Linked DNA regions of Homo sapiens: all the other regions are linked to region 1. Evidence: promoter capture Hi-C in human tissues and cell types (Jung and others, 2019). All regions are on one chromosome and are shown on one strand. The core of a region is centred on a gene start or on the middle of the fragment in contact, and the rest is flanking DNA. Distances in the headings are between cores, read along the strand shown. Region 1 holds the start of ZDHHC22 (zDHHC palmitoyltransferase 22). Region 2 overlaps TMED8 (transmembrane p24 trafficking protein family member 8). Region 3 overlaps GSTZ1 (glutathione S-transferase zeta 1).

Evidence for each region. The method cuts DNA at HindIII sites, captures the fragments that hold promoters and counts their contacts. A contact is called where the count stands out against the background at its distance.
Region 2: a fragment that was not itself captured here is called in contact with the fragment with the promoter of ZDHHC22 in region 1 in 2 of the 25 tissues and cell types used here (H1 embryonic stem cells and dorsolateral prefrontal cortex).
Region 3: a fragment that was not itself captured here is called in contact with the fragment with the promoter of ZDHHC22 in region 1 in 1 of the 25 tissues and cell types used here (dorsolateral prefrontal cortex).

What each region holds. Positions count from the first base shown.
Region 1 is chr14:77,140,035-77,144,454 of GRCh38, reverse strand. It overlaps ZDHHC22 (zDHHC palmitoyltransferase 22), which reads left to right and starts at 2,664. Exons shown (of 3, transcript NM_174976.2): 1 at 2,664-2,852. RefSeq lists enhancers at 2,550-3,051, 3,146-3,709, 3,710-4,273, 4,411-4,420. The HindIII fragment of the contact is 26,670 bases long and covers 1-4,420 here.
Region 2 is chr14:77,367,700-77,372,119 of GRCh38, reverse strand. The region is part of intron 1 of TMED8 (transmembrane p24 trafficking protein family member 8); the gene reads left to right. Among named protein-coding and RNA genes, the nearest start is that of TMED8, 7.2 kb to the left of the region's middle. The HindIII fragment of the contact is 7,125 bases long and covers 1-4,420 here.
Region 3 is chr14:77,329,043-77,333,462 of GRCh38, reverse strand. GSTZ1 (glutathione S-transferase zeta 1) reads right to left here. Exons shown (of 9, transcript NM_145870.3): 6 at 4,262-4,340; 7 at 3,656-3,708; 8 at 3,104-3,153; 9 at 1,866-2,394. The coding sequence ends at 2,268. Among named protein-coding and RNA genes, the nearest start is that of GSTZ1, 10 kb to the right of the region's middle. RefSeq lists an enhancer at 2,662-3,861. The HindIII fragment of the contact is 8,017 bases long and covers 1-4,420 here.

The DNA.
Region 1 (4,420 bases), core at 1,415-3,914:
GCCTCCTGGGTTCAAGCGATTCTCCTGTCTCAGCCTCTTGAGTAGCTGGGATTACAGGCACTGGCCACCACGCCTGGCTAATTTTTATATTTTTAGTAGGGACGGGGTTTCCCCATGTTGGCCAGGATGGTTTCGGACTCCTGACCTCAGGTGATCTGCCTGCCTCAGCCTCCCAAAGTGCTGGGATTACAGGTGTGAGCCAATGCATCTGGCCCTCACCAGACATTTCAAAGACCTCAGAATATAGCTCTTCCTTTCACAGACAGACCAGTAGCAATTCATCGATCAAGAGACTTTTACTCAGTGTCAACTCTGGGCAAATCATCCTATTAGGAAATATGGAAGAAACCCCAAAACATTTCCAACATAGGCAAGGAGCTCTCATTTTAGTTGGAAAGTGAAGAGAGTCCTGTGGTTGAAAAGAGGAGCCCTAAAGATGTGGGAGACGCTAAGGTGCTTAAATTACATGATCCCATTTGATCATCATCACCACAAATAACAGCAGCATTCTTATTCCCATTTTACCGATGAGAATACTGAGAGCAGAGAGGTTAAATGACTAGCAGCTCATGGTCACACAGCTGGTAAATGGCAATAAAATGCTCATTCTTAGTCTGCTTGACTCTCATAGGGCCAGAATCCAAGTGAAGTTTTCATATTGATTTTGCCTCCCTATTGATTTTGTCAGGGATAAGCATAAGTTTTAGAAAAACAAAATGACATTTGCCGTGCTTCCCTTCACTCCATTCCTTAAGGGGAGCTGAGGAACCACTAGCTTTAGATCTGAAGCTGTAATGTCCTTTTCTGTTGATAAACGATATTTCTAAATAAATAATCGTCCTTGTCCATTTGTGTTTCCACGACCAGATCTCCTTTTCCTGACTGAATACTCCCTTCCCCCACTAACATCTTCCCACGTTCGCTTAGCTTCTTTCTCTCTTTCCCTTTCCTCATACACACAGATTCAGACACACACCTTCCCACCTCACACCCATATGCAAAATAAAATTAGAAATACCACCCGACTCACAAGGTATTTGGGGAATGGAGATCTTCAGTCAGTATACCCAAACCCAAGCACCCCAGCCAGCCTCCCTCCCTGCCAAGCCCATGTGAGAGGCAGACAGAGCTTGTGAAAAGGGGCCCAGACGGCCACGATTATGAGACAAAGCTGCTCTGAAGGGAAAAGGGCCATGTGTGCCTCCCCATGTCTGTCCTGTGGCCACTGGAACTCACAAGGCTACCAGCTGCTCACGGCCACCATGTGGCATATACTGTTCTTTCACTTACATGTCAGATCCTTTTAGAATGTGAAAAGGTTTCCTGGCCTCTTTTTTATTTTGATGTATGCTGATAAATTACAGAGGAAACAGTGTGTGGTTATTCAAGAATAGAGGCTGAGCTGATCAGCATATGGCCCTCATTTCAAGGGATTGCTCTTGTTTTAATCAGCCAGTTGAGAAAGCAATAAATGTTTATTTATTAAGTATGCCATCACCGAGAGGAGAGGAACAGGGCAGGTAGGTGAGCTGCGACACCCAGGAAATTGAGGATGGTGATGGCACCAATATTCCTGCAGTGTTTGATGTTTTTAAGGCTCTGCTCCCCCCACCCCCCACTGTTTGATACACATTGGTGTCACTACCCTCTTGGCGCATCACAGTACCCACCTTAGAATAGCGGAGCCCTGGAAGGGGAAGGAAATAGAAATAAGAAGGTGGGGGTGAGGCTCAAAGAAGAAGCTCCAAGTTCAAGCTCTGTGTCTGGATAAACTCCCATTGTCTTTCCTTCTCTCAAATCAGAGCTGCCCGTGGGTCCCAGGGTGATGCTGGGCTGTGTAGAGGCTGAGTGCAGGAGCATTAATGCTAGAACCAGGTTCAAGTCCAGGCTCTGTCACTTAATGGCTGTATGACCTTAGACATGAGACTTAGCTTCTCTGAGCTTCAACCTCCTCATCTCCAGAATGGGGCTCAGCCAGCTTCACAGATCAGGCTGAGAGGATTAAGGAAGCATCTTATGCTAAAGGCTTAGCACAATGCCTGCTACCTAGTAGGGGCCCGATAAGTAGTGTCTAATTATGATCTAATCAAGCAGTGCTTGCCCTGGGCAGGCCCTGTTTAAGGGTTTTACATAGATTGTCATTTAACCCTCATATCTCTATTTCACAGATGAGGAAACTGGAATCTAAGATCACACTGGAATTTACAGACGAAGAAACTGGAATCTGAGATCTCACAGTAGTGAATGGTGAATATTCAAACCCAGGTAGACAGGCTCCAGAGTCCCAACTCCCAACCCTCTGTACACAGCCCTTCCGAGGAGATGACGCTGATCTTCATGGGTGTTGCCCTGGCAAGCTGACCTCTCAAGCCCCCAGGGTTCCTTCAGTCCGAGTGGAGAGCAGGGAAGGTCGTGGGACCTAGCCGAGAGGGAAGGGCAGGATGATGGCTGGAGAATCCACATCAGGGCTGAATCCCAATCTCCCAGCTGGAACGGGCGCTGAAACCAGGCAGGGCGCCCCAGCCCGCTCAAGGGGAATCGAGAGGGGAGGAGGGGGCAAGTCCACGATGCTGAGACTGGCGGCCAGAGCACCGCCCCCAGGAGCGGAGGGAGGGGTGGCGGGGCTGGGGGGTGCCCAGCTGCCATCCCCGCCGCTTCCTGGCCCTTACTCGCTGGCGCCCAAGTGGGAAGCCAGCAGCTGCCCGCTCCCTCCTCCCCACATCCCCGCTACTTGCCCAGTTCCCGAAGCGAAGCGCAGGCTGCGAGCCAGCCGGGCCGAGTCCACAACTTTGCAGCCTCGGGCAGGGCGAGAGCCGGCGTCCGGGGCTCCTCTTGTCGGCGACCAGAGCTCGGTGAGTTGATTTCCTCACCCCTCTGCGACGGCGGCAGTGCGGCGGCGGCGGCGCGGGGGGCGGCTTCCCGTGCGTCCGGGAGGCAGTGGCCGAGAAGCCCGCGGCTGCCGGCGCTGCCGGTCTTTCCAAGGCTCCGGCTGTGCCGCCCTCTGCCGCGGGCGAGGCGGGCGCCAGGGCTGAACGGACAGCTCCCTACACCCCGGGGCCCCACGGGCGGTCTCTGCTGTCCCTTCTCCCGCGCAGGGCCAGGGCTGAGGCTGCCTGCCGAGCGCCCCTCACTCCCCTAGCCCCTGTCCTTCGCCGCCTTCCCAGCGCTGCGGCGCATCTGGCTGCTCCCGCGCCCCCCTGGCGACCGGCGCCGGGAAGGCACTTGCTTCGCCGGAGCCCCAGGCCGAGGGCTCTCTGGGGTGGGCAGCACCGCCGCAGCCCCCGGCGGCGCAGGACTGGGGGCGTGCCCAGCCCCCGGCGACCACCCTCAGGCGTGCACTGCGCTGCGCCCCAGCGGTAGGGAGAGGCCCACGCTCTCCGCGGAGGCTGCGGGTTCCCGGGGGGCGCTGGGACCTGCAAAGGGGATTCCAAGGTGACCAGTCGACCCGTGCGGACGGGACAGCCTGGACGGAGGCCCCGTGGCATCCACCCATCCTAGGTGCAACCGCCTTCCCAGAACTTTTCTCGCGCCTCCGGCTGGCCGATTCCTTAGCCCCTGGAAAAGTTCTCTCGGGCGCACGGAATCCTATTTCTCGGTGGCTTCCGAAGCTGGCCAGGAACCCCGGCTGTGAGGCGTGGGGTGGGATGGGGACGTGGTGAGGGCTGAGCACGGCGGCGGGGTCGATCCCAGGAAAGGCTGGCCAAGCATCCACTCGTGCGCCCAGGGCGGGCTTGTCGGCATGGAAAGGATTTCGGCGCCATGAGGGTTGTTTGGGTTTCTCTCAGCAGGAGGGCGGGAGGCGGGCGCGAAGGGGGGATTTTAATTTCGCCTCAAATGAAAACGCTCTTCGCAAAGAAATAGCCCGGGCAGCCAGCGTTGGAGAGATGTGCTGGCCAGGACCCGCTGACACAGGTATTCTGGTTGCGCCCCCACCTCACCCGGTGCCCGAGAGCGAGTGTGAGTGTATCGATTGTTTCAATTGATTTTTTTAAAGCTAGATAGCAGAGGCTGCGTGTCTGTACACGCAGATATATACATACACAAATACAGATACTCAAGCGCACACAGATTACACGTACAGAGTCACAGACAAGGACACACACACACACATCGTGGTCCCTCACGCACACATACCTCCAAAGAGCCTTGGGTAACCTGGTGAGGTCCCTGAGTGCTGCCCAAGATGTGTGTGTGGGTGGGGACGCAGGGACGGAGAAAGGGGAGTGTGAAGCAGGATTTCCAGCAGGTCAAGTGCCGCTGATTCTCCTGCCCCCGACCCCAAATCCTTCCCTTTCTCCTCCTAGGGAGGTCTGAACCAGAAATCCCAAACCTGGGCTTGTTTCCACATCCACAGAGGGGAGGAGTCCTATCCCCCGGTGCCCCCCACCCTCACAACTCCTAAAGACTGCAAACGAGTCCC
Region 2 (4,420 bases), core at 1,379-3,878, 230 kb before region 1:
TCATTGTTTCCGAGATTTCGGCCACTGAGGAACCATGGTAATGACTTTGCCACACTGGAGAATACCGTTACAGTATTAGTTATTTACTATTTTTTCTTGACATTGACATTTAATTGACATTTTGATTGACACTTAAAAGTTTCATTCTAAATAATACCTACGATATTACTAGTTTGATATATCCATTTTTCTTAATATATACTAGAATACATATTTTTAAAAATAAAAAACATTTCCCCACATACCATCTAAATTTGCAAAGTCTGGCCTGATTTCTCTGATCTCTTCTAGGAATACTTTCAGAATTGGCTTATATTTGGCTAATATAATAAAAGCTATACTATAGGAAAATTGGCTTTTTCTTCTGCATAGTGGCTTAAATTTCACTGAAGAACTTCAGGAAACCTAAAAGGCTGTGCTCATAATTCTCTCTCACTGAAACAGCGCTGCATCTCCCACACTTTATACTTCTGGAAATAAAGTTATGTTTTTCTTTCTCCTTTTCTTACTTCCTGCCTCTCTGAATCCAATTATAAGTTGTTTTACCAGTAGTTCTTATGTAATTTAGGGCATTCTTTAAAATTAAAAATAATTTAGGGCATTCCTTTAAAGTTAAAAATCAAAAGCTCAACTCCTTATGGGATGGAAAGAAAAAAAATCAAAAGCATATTTTTTTCCAGTATACATTAAGTTGTTAAAATGCTATGAGAAGTGGTGCTTACCATGTGAAAAATGCTCAACCTAAATCATAATAAGGGAATTGGAAATCCTAACTACACTTGGTAGTTTGCTAACTCACTTTGTTGGTCGGTGTGCAGAAGCAGACACTCTCATGCTTTGCTAATGAGATTGTAAATTGGTACAGATTCTGTGGAGGGCAACTTGTCAATATCCATCAGAATTACAATATATGCCCCTTTGACTCATTCTTTCCAGGAATTATAGATTTATTTATTCTCCTGTTTAATGACATAGATACAAGGTTATTATGGCATTGTTTGTAATGGTAATACATTATGGAATATTCACCCAATGAAATACTAATCAGCTGTAGAAAAGAATGAAGAAGCTTTTCATGTGCAGTTATGGAAAGGTCTTTGAGATATAAGTGGAAAGAACAAAGTACACAGTAGTATGTCCAGCATGCTCCCCCCGACCTTTTTTTTTTTCTGAGACAGAGTCTCGCACTGTTGCCCAGGCTGGAGTGCAATGGCGTGATCTTAGCTCACTGCAACCTCCGCCTCCCGGGTTCAAGCGATTCTCCTGCATCAGCCTCTCAAGTAGCTGGGATTACAGGCACGCACCACCACGCCTAAGCATGCCCATTTTTTGTGTAAAAAAGTGAAAAAGTATACACACACACACACACACACACACTTTTTTTTATATGCATAAAACATCTTTGGAAGACTACACAAAACCAAATAACATTGATTGCTTTTGGAGGTAGGGACTGACATGGGAGGAAATTTTTCACTGTATACTTATATGCTTTTTGAATTTTGAATAATGTGGATAAATTATTCAGAAATAGTTAATAAAAATAGTCTTTAAAATATATAAATATATGTGTACATAGATAGACACACACACAAACTTGGCATGAGACTTCACTATGTCTATATCCTAAATAAGAGCCTTTCTATAGGTCTGTATTCTGTTTCTGCTCATCAGGAACTGACATTTTCTAGACCTTTTTCTCTCAGTGAATTTTTTTATAAAAGGTTATAAGTCTCCTTAGAGATTAATTTTGTTATTCTTTAAATCCACTACTGTCTTTCATTATTTTTGTGCTAGTTTCATTTCTGTCTAAAAATTTAACCTTTTTGAAGTCTTCATTACGATCCAAAGGACAGGATAAGCCAAAGGGGGATAGACATAGTAGATAAACTGATATTATTAATCAATGACAGAGAGAGGGCAGAATTTTTTTTTTTTTTTTTTTTTTGAAACGGAGTCTCGCTCTGTCGCCTTGACTGGAGTGCAGTGGTGTGATCTCGGCTCACTGCAACCTCCGCCTTCTGGGTTCAAGCGATTCTCCTGCCTCAGCCTCCCGAGTAGCTGGGATTACAGGCATGTGCCACCACGCCCGGCTAATTTTTGTATTTTTAGTAGAGATGGGGTTTCACCATGCTGGCCAGGTTGGTCTCGAACTCCTGACCTTGTGATCTGCCCGCCTCGGCCCTCCCGCCTCCGCCTCCCTTACAGGCATGAGCCACCGTGCCTGGCAGAGGGCAGAACTATTTTTGTTTCTATTTTATTCACTAAGGTATATTCAGATTGATATGGGTAAATAGGCAATATGGATTTCTGTTTTCAGTAATAGCAGACTAGGTAATTATCTCTCATCAGGGACAATTAGAAAATATGGGTGAAATATAAACATCTGCTGGAAGATACTGGAGAGATAGAAAGATCATGAAGAATTACCTAGCTGTGATCCATGTGAGAGCTATAGAGATCCAAGGACAAGAGTCTATTTTGGGGCTCTTTTGTCTCCTGAGGGTACATGCTGGATTCCTGAGTGGGGAAGCTGAGTGACAAGGTCATGAAAAGTGCCTCTTTGAACTAAAGTAACAGGAAATGGATTAGTGTTCAGGACCCGTCAAGGGGGAGCCTGGTGAACTCCATTTCCTTTGGGTTAGGGCCATGAAAGGCCATGCCCTAAAAGTAGGTCATTGCAGGGAGTGCAACTCAGCTTCAGAAACAGCTAAGTTCATGAATTGGGATTTTTGGGTGGCTTTGACAAGCTGGTTCTAAAATACATATAGAAATAGAAGGCCACAAATAGCAAAGACACTCTTGAATAAGACAACAGGGAAAGATTTGTTCCATCCAACATCAAGACTTATTTTAAAGTTTTTAAAGAGTAGTCAGGCTCTAGGAATAGAATCAAAAGCTTAGAAACATGTTTATACGGACACTTGCTTTGCAACAAAGATTGTTAACATAGAGCAGTGGGTAAGGTAAGGTAAATGTTTCTGGGACAATTGAATATTCTAAGAGAAAGGAAAGTAAAGAAACGTAATCTTTACCTCACACATCATACACAAAAAATCAACTCGGTAGATTATAGAACAGTATGTGAAAGGTAGTACATAAGCACCTACCTATAGGATATGGGAGAATATTTTCGGATCTCAATATAGTGAAAGACATCTTAGACAGGACATACAAAGACTAAGGAAGGCAAATTTGATAAATTTTGAGTACACAAAAGTACTTTGGTTCATCAAAGGCCACCATTAAATGGGAAAAGTCATGTCACAGAGTGGAAGCAGGTAATTATAATACATATACCTGACAAAAGGTTTGTATCTAAAACTCCTATAAATAATAAAAAGGGACTGGGCTTGGTGGCTCATGCCTGTAATCCCAGCACTTTGGGAGGCCAAGGTGGGCGGATCATGAGGTCAGGAGTTCGAGAACAGCCTGGCCAATATGGTGAAACCCTGTCTCTACTAAAATACAAAAATTAGCTGGGTGTGGTGGCACGTGCCTGTAGTCCCAGCTACTAGGGAGGCTGAGGCCGAAGAATCTCTTGAACCCAGGAGGCGGAGGTTGCAGTGAGCCGAGACCATGCCACTGCACTCCAACTTGGGTGACAGAGTGAGACTCCGTCTCAAAAATAAATAAATAAATAAATAAATAATAAAAAGGACAATCCAGTAATAAAATTGGCAAGAGACTTGGAGAGGCACTTCACAAAAGAAGATTTTTAAATGGCCAAGAAATACGAGTCATTGGTGAAATACAAACTAAATTAGCATACATCTACCAGAATGGCCCCCCAAAAAAATTTTAACATGACCAAGTGTCAGAGAAGGTCCAGAGTAATGAAATGATGCTACAATGCTGGTAGCATTATATTTGGTACAACCCCTTTAGAAAATAGTTCGGCATTATCTACTGAAATTTAACATTCAAATTTCTATGACTTAACCGTTTCCATTCTGACATTTATATCCAACATAAATGTATGCACTGTAGCCAAGACACAAGAATATTCATAGCAGCATTATTCATAATAGCCCCAAACTGGAGTTAACCTAAGTATCATCAACAATAGATAGATAGCTCATGGTGGATTCATGGAATAACGTACAGCAATGACAGTGAACAAACTGGCTGGGTGCGGTGGCCCATGCCTGTAATCCCAGTACTCTGGGAGGCTGAGGAAGGCGGATCACCTGAGCTCAGGATTTTGAGACCAACCTGGCCAACATGGTGAAACCCCGTCTCTACTAAAAATACAAAAATTAGTTGGGCGTGGTGGTGGGCGCCTGTAGTCCCAGCTGCTCAGGAGGCTGAGGCAGGAGAATCGCTTGAAGCGAGGAGGTGGAGGTTGCAGTGAGCCGAGATTGCACCATTGCACTCCAGCCTGGGCAACAAGAGTGAGATTCTGTCTCAGAAAAAAAAA
Region 3 (4,420 bases), core at 503-3,002, 190 kb before region 1:
GTGGTGGCGTGGGCCTGCAGTCCCAGCTACTTGGGAGGCTGAGGCAGGAGAATCCCTTGAACCTGGGAGGCGGAGGTTGCAGTGAACCGAGATCGCTCCACTGCACTCCAGCCTGGCGAGAGAGTGAGACTCTGTCTCCAAAAAAAAAAAAAAAAACAAAAACAAAACACTAAAAGTTAGGAGGAGCCGTATCTTGGCCAGGCGTGGTGGCTCACGCCTGTAATCCCAGCACTTTGGGAGGCCGAAGTGGGCAGATCACCTGAGGTCAGGAGTTCGAGACCAGCTTAACCAACGCGCCTGTAATCCCAGTACTCGGGAGGCTGAGGCAGGAGAATCACTTGAACCCAGGAGGTGGAAAGTTGCAATGAACCTGAGCTCTTACCACTGCACTCCAGCCTGGGCATGACAGAGCAAGACTCCATCACAAAAAAAAAATAAATAAATAAAAATAAAAAAAAATAGTATGAGTATGTGTATCACCTGTTTATCCAGTAAGTTTGCCACTTTCCTTAATGGATATGTAAAATTTCTGAGGAACACAGCCTATAATTTTTGCTTTGTTCTCAGGTATTTCCTGATAGCACCTCCCTACTGCTTTCCTCCTCCTGAAGTATTTCTGGGGACTTGTTACTTCCATAGAGTTGGAATTACCAGTATCAGGCCCCTCCATCATTGTTCTTCCTTCACTGTGGCCACTCCCACTCTGGGAAGACCACGTACATATCTAGTCTCCCTGTGCCTCTAGCATATCAGGATCAGGTGTCTGCTGAGTGTGATATGGAAAGGAAGGACTTGACTTACCACTCATCCGTTTGAGAGAAGCCCCTACTGGAAAATGTCCTGTAAAAAGGTGATGGTCTTTGCTACGATTTAAATGTTTATGTCCCCTCTAAAATTCATGTTGAAACTTAATCTCCAATACAACAGTATTCAGAGGTGGGGCCTTCAAGAGGTAAAGCTCCTAAAAAGTCATCTCATTTCATCCCCAGAAGCTACCCCAATCTCTGTACGGCATCTCTGCCCAGAGGTGGTCCTGGTTCTGCCTGAACACTGCCAAGCATGGGAACTTGCTCCCTCCAGGGCAGCCTGTGGTACACTGCTACCTGCTTGGTCTCCTAAGCTGGCCTGGTCAGTAGCTGCTCACACTGCCCACGGGGGAGCCTGCCTCCCATTCCCAGCACCATCTGTGACTGGATTTACCCCGAGTGCCTAATCCTGGGACTGGTCTGGAGAATGCTGGCCCTGAAGACGAGGGACTGGTTGAGAGGGCCAAATGGCCTCTCAGTGCTGGAGTGGAATATGTTTTTTTTTTTTAGATGGAGTCTCACTCTATCTCCCAAGCTGGAGTGCACTGGTGCAATCTCGGCTCACTGCAACCTCCACCTCCCAGGTTCAAGCCATTCTCCCACCTCAGCTGGGACTACAGGCACCTGCCACTACACCCGGCTAATTTTTGTATTTTTAGTAGAGTCGGGGTTTCACCATGTTGGCCAGGCTGGTCTTGAACTCCTGACCTCAAGTGATCCACCTGCCTCGGCCTCCCAAAGTGCAGGGATTATAGGCATGAGCCACTGCGCCCAGCCTGGAGTGGAACATTTAACAACGGTACCATTCCTAGCCCTGAGAACTCAGCCAGTCACTAGATGCTTTCCTGCTTCTATCTGTTATCTCCCTGGATCTTGTCTGATTCTTTCAGGCAGGCTTTTGGGTATATTTCTCATCATTGCCCTTAGGTCCCATGGGCCAGGCCTGCCACAGGGTAGGCAAGTGGCTGACTGACTTCCTCTACTGGTCCAGGCACAGGGGATTCCAGCTAGGGACAGTGTTCATCTTCTGGAACCTAGCTCAGTCTTAGACAAACAAGGTAGAGGCCTGGGCTTCAGTTTAATTCACGCCAAATTTCAGCGCGGGCATTCTTTGGAGTCACACACAACAAAAGCGGATGAGAAAAGGCACACAGCCTTCCCCGTGGTGTTACGGTGAGCACGCCAGGCATTTTAATCCGCATTCTCATCTCAGCCTCACGACTGCCCCGTCACATAGATAACAGTATTCCTGCCCACCCTGCTCCCCGCATCTCCCTACTCCACCCCACATGCGTGTGACAGATGAGGGGACTGAGGTGGAACAAGTTTCAGCAGGAAGGCAGATCCAGGGCTAGAGTTCGAGTCTCCCATCTCCTCAATTAAGACTCTCGTTTCCAGGCCTCTTCAGCCCACCCAGCTTCTGCTCCTGTGGCCCTGTGCCAACGGGGCAGGATTTGGGAGCTAGGCCCTCAGCTCAGTGGGTGTATCTGGCTGCCGGCAGGGGTGAGACACCTGGAAGGCCTCCAAGACCAGCAGCCTCTTGTTGATGGAGCTGATGGTAGGGTAGGGGGTGAGATCCACCTTGAATCTGTAGTAGAGAAACACCTGCTAAGCTAAGGTTTTCAGGGACACAGGGAGACTGCCCTGATGCAGCAGGGGGAGCAGAGAGGCAGGGCTGGATGAGGTCGAGGGAGCTGTCCAGGGAAGGACGATGGGGCAGCCCTTATTCACAGGGGATGGGTAGGTCTTGTGCAGTATCATTTGGCATCTGTTACCTACTGTTCCTATTTCTTTGTGAACCTGCTATGTGTAAGGCCCAGTGCTAGGCATTTATATATACAGACTCTCTTCCCCCATGTTGTAAGCTTCTTGGGGGCAGGGAATGTGCCATACGTTTCCATATCCCTAACGCCTAGCATGATGCCTTCCAGAGAGGTGCTCATTTGTGCCCTACCAAAGGGTTCACGGAAGGATGCAGAGGTAGAGCTCACTACTGCTCACAGACACACCACATTTGAGGACATCAGGCAGGTGCTCTTGGGGGTCCACCAGGTGAGCCACCTCCTCTTAGGAGCTGGGGCTATCTATACAGGTTCATCTGGGCTGTGGTGGGCGTAGTAGGAGCACTGCCCCAATTTCTTCTGCCCTCTTCCAGGCAGAAGTGGCTATGTGGCCTGGCATGGTGGGCTCCTTGGCTGGTTGGCGAAGCGTCTGCATGAGATGCTATCTCGCCAGCTGAGTGGGGCCTGACTGTGGGCAGAGCCACGAGAAGGGAGGGTGGCGGGGCTCTCTCTTACCTTTCAGCATTTGCCACCTGAGGCACCAAGCACAGATCAGCCATGGTCACCTGAAAGAGGTCCCGGTGGGTTCCCATCAGGGTGCATACCCCAGAGTCAGTGGCTGGACTGGGTGTGTCCACTGCGACTCTACTGGGGGTACCAACAATCTGCTTCGGCTCTTTCACCCATCCCACCTCCAATTCTTGTCTGCCCTAGGCCTGCATGAGTCTGTCCCCCGGAGCTGAAGTGCCCTCCCAGGCCATGCTCCAGTTGCCCTGACAACCAACTCTGTGGGTTGAGAGGGCCAGAGAAGATGGATTGCCTTGACTGCGCAGACATCATCTAGCACAATCCCTCAACTGATGCTGGCCCGCCTCATCCTCTCACAGCCAGTCTTCTACCTTGAGTAACTCCCTCTTAAGACGGTTTAGTGGGAGTGAGCTGAGGAGTGCCCCATGGCACAGAGATCCCCCTGCAGACGCCTTCTCAGGAAGCTCTGAGCTTGAGGGAGGTCAGCATGAGGGAGGCAGCCACTGTGGCTGGGCCTGGGGAGGTCTGGGGACAGCTTACCTCGTCTCCTACACAGTATATGCCCGCTGTGCTCTGTAGGATCTGCTCCAGGGCTGTGGGGAGGCCACATAAACATCTTATTCTGGGCGCAGGGAGGGGACACAAAGCTTTCTGGGCCTTGGCCTCCATAGTTATGAAATGGGCGCCCAACTGAGTGACAGACTGGGCATGGCTGCTGGTGAGAATGTGGCAGCCAGGTCTCGAGAGAGCTGTTAGGGATGAGCTGCTGTTTCCTGAGGCTCCGCACAGACAATCACCATTTCCCCACTCGAGTGGACAAGCCCTGCCACTGGCCACGGTGACAGCTCTCACTCTGATGGCTGGCGCTGTGCTGGCCTTGGTTTCCCAGCTGGAGTAGGCAGTGAAGCTGAAGTTGGGCCATCCAGCTATGAAGGGCTGTGGGCTCAGGGACCGAGGTTCCCAGAAGTGCTGGAGCTAAGGTCTGGATGCCCACCCAGCCCATTGCCTCCCCAGTCCTGCCCTCATCCATGCAACTGTCAGGCCCAAAGCAGCCTGGGAGGCTGGTTCAGATACCCAGGCCCCTGTGTGCGAGGGCCATACCTCTAAGAGGCCACTGTGGGGCAGCTCACAGAGGTGAGGACTCACCGTTAAAGCCACAAGTGATGGCGTTCTGGGCCCAGGTCAGCTGCATCTCCTCTCCCACTTGCTTCAGGACAGACAGGTTCTGTGCAGCCCAAAGAAAATCTGTGATTGCGCTGACAGCTGGGTGGGGGCTACCCCTTCGCCAAACCCCCTCAGGGAAGT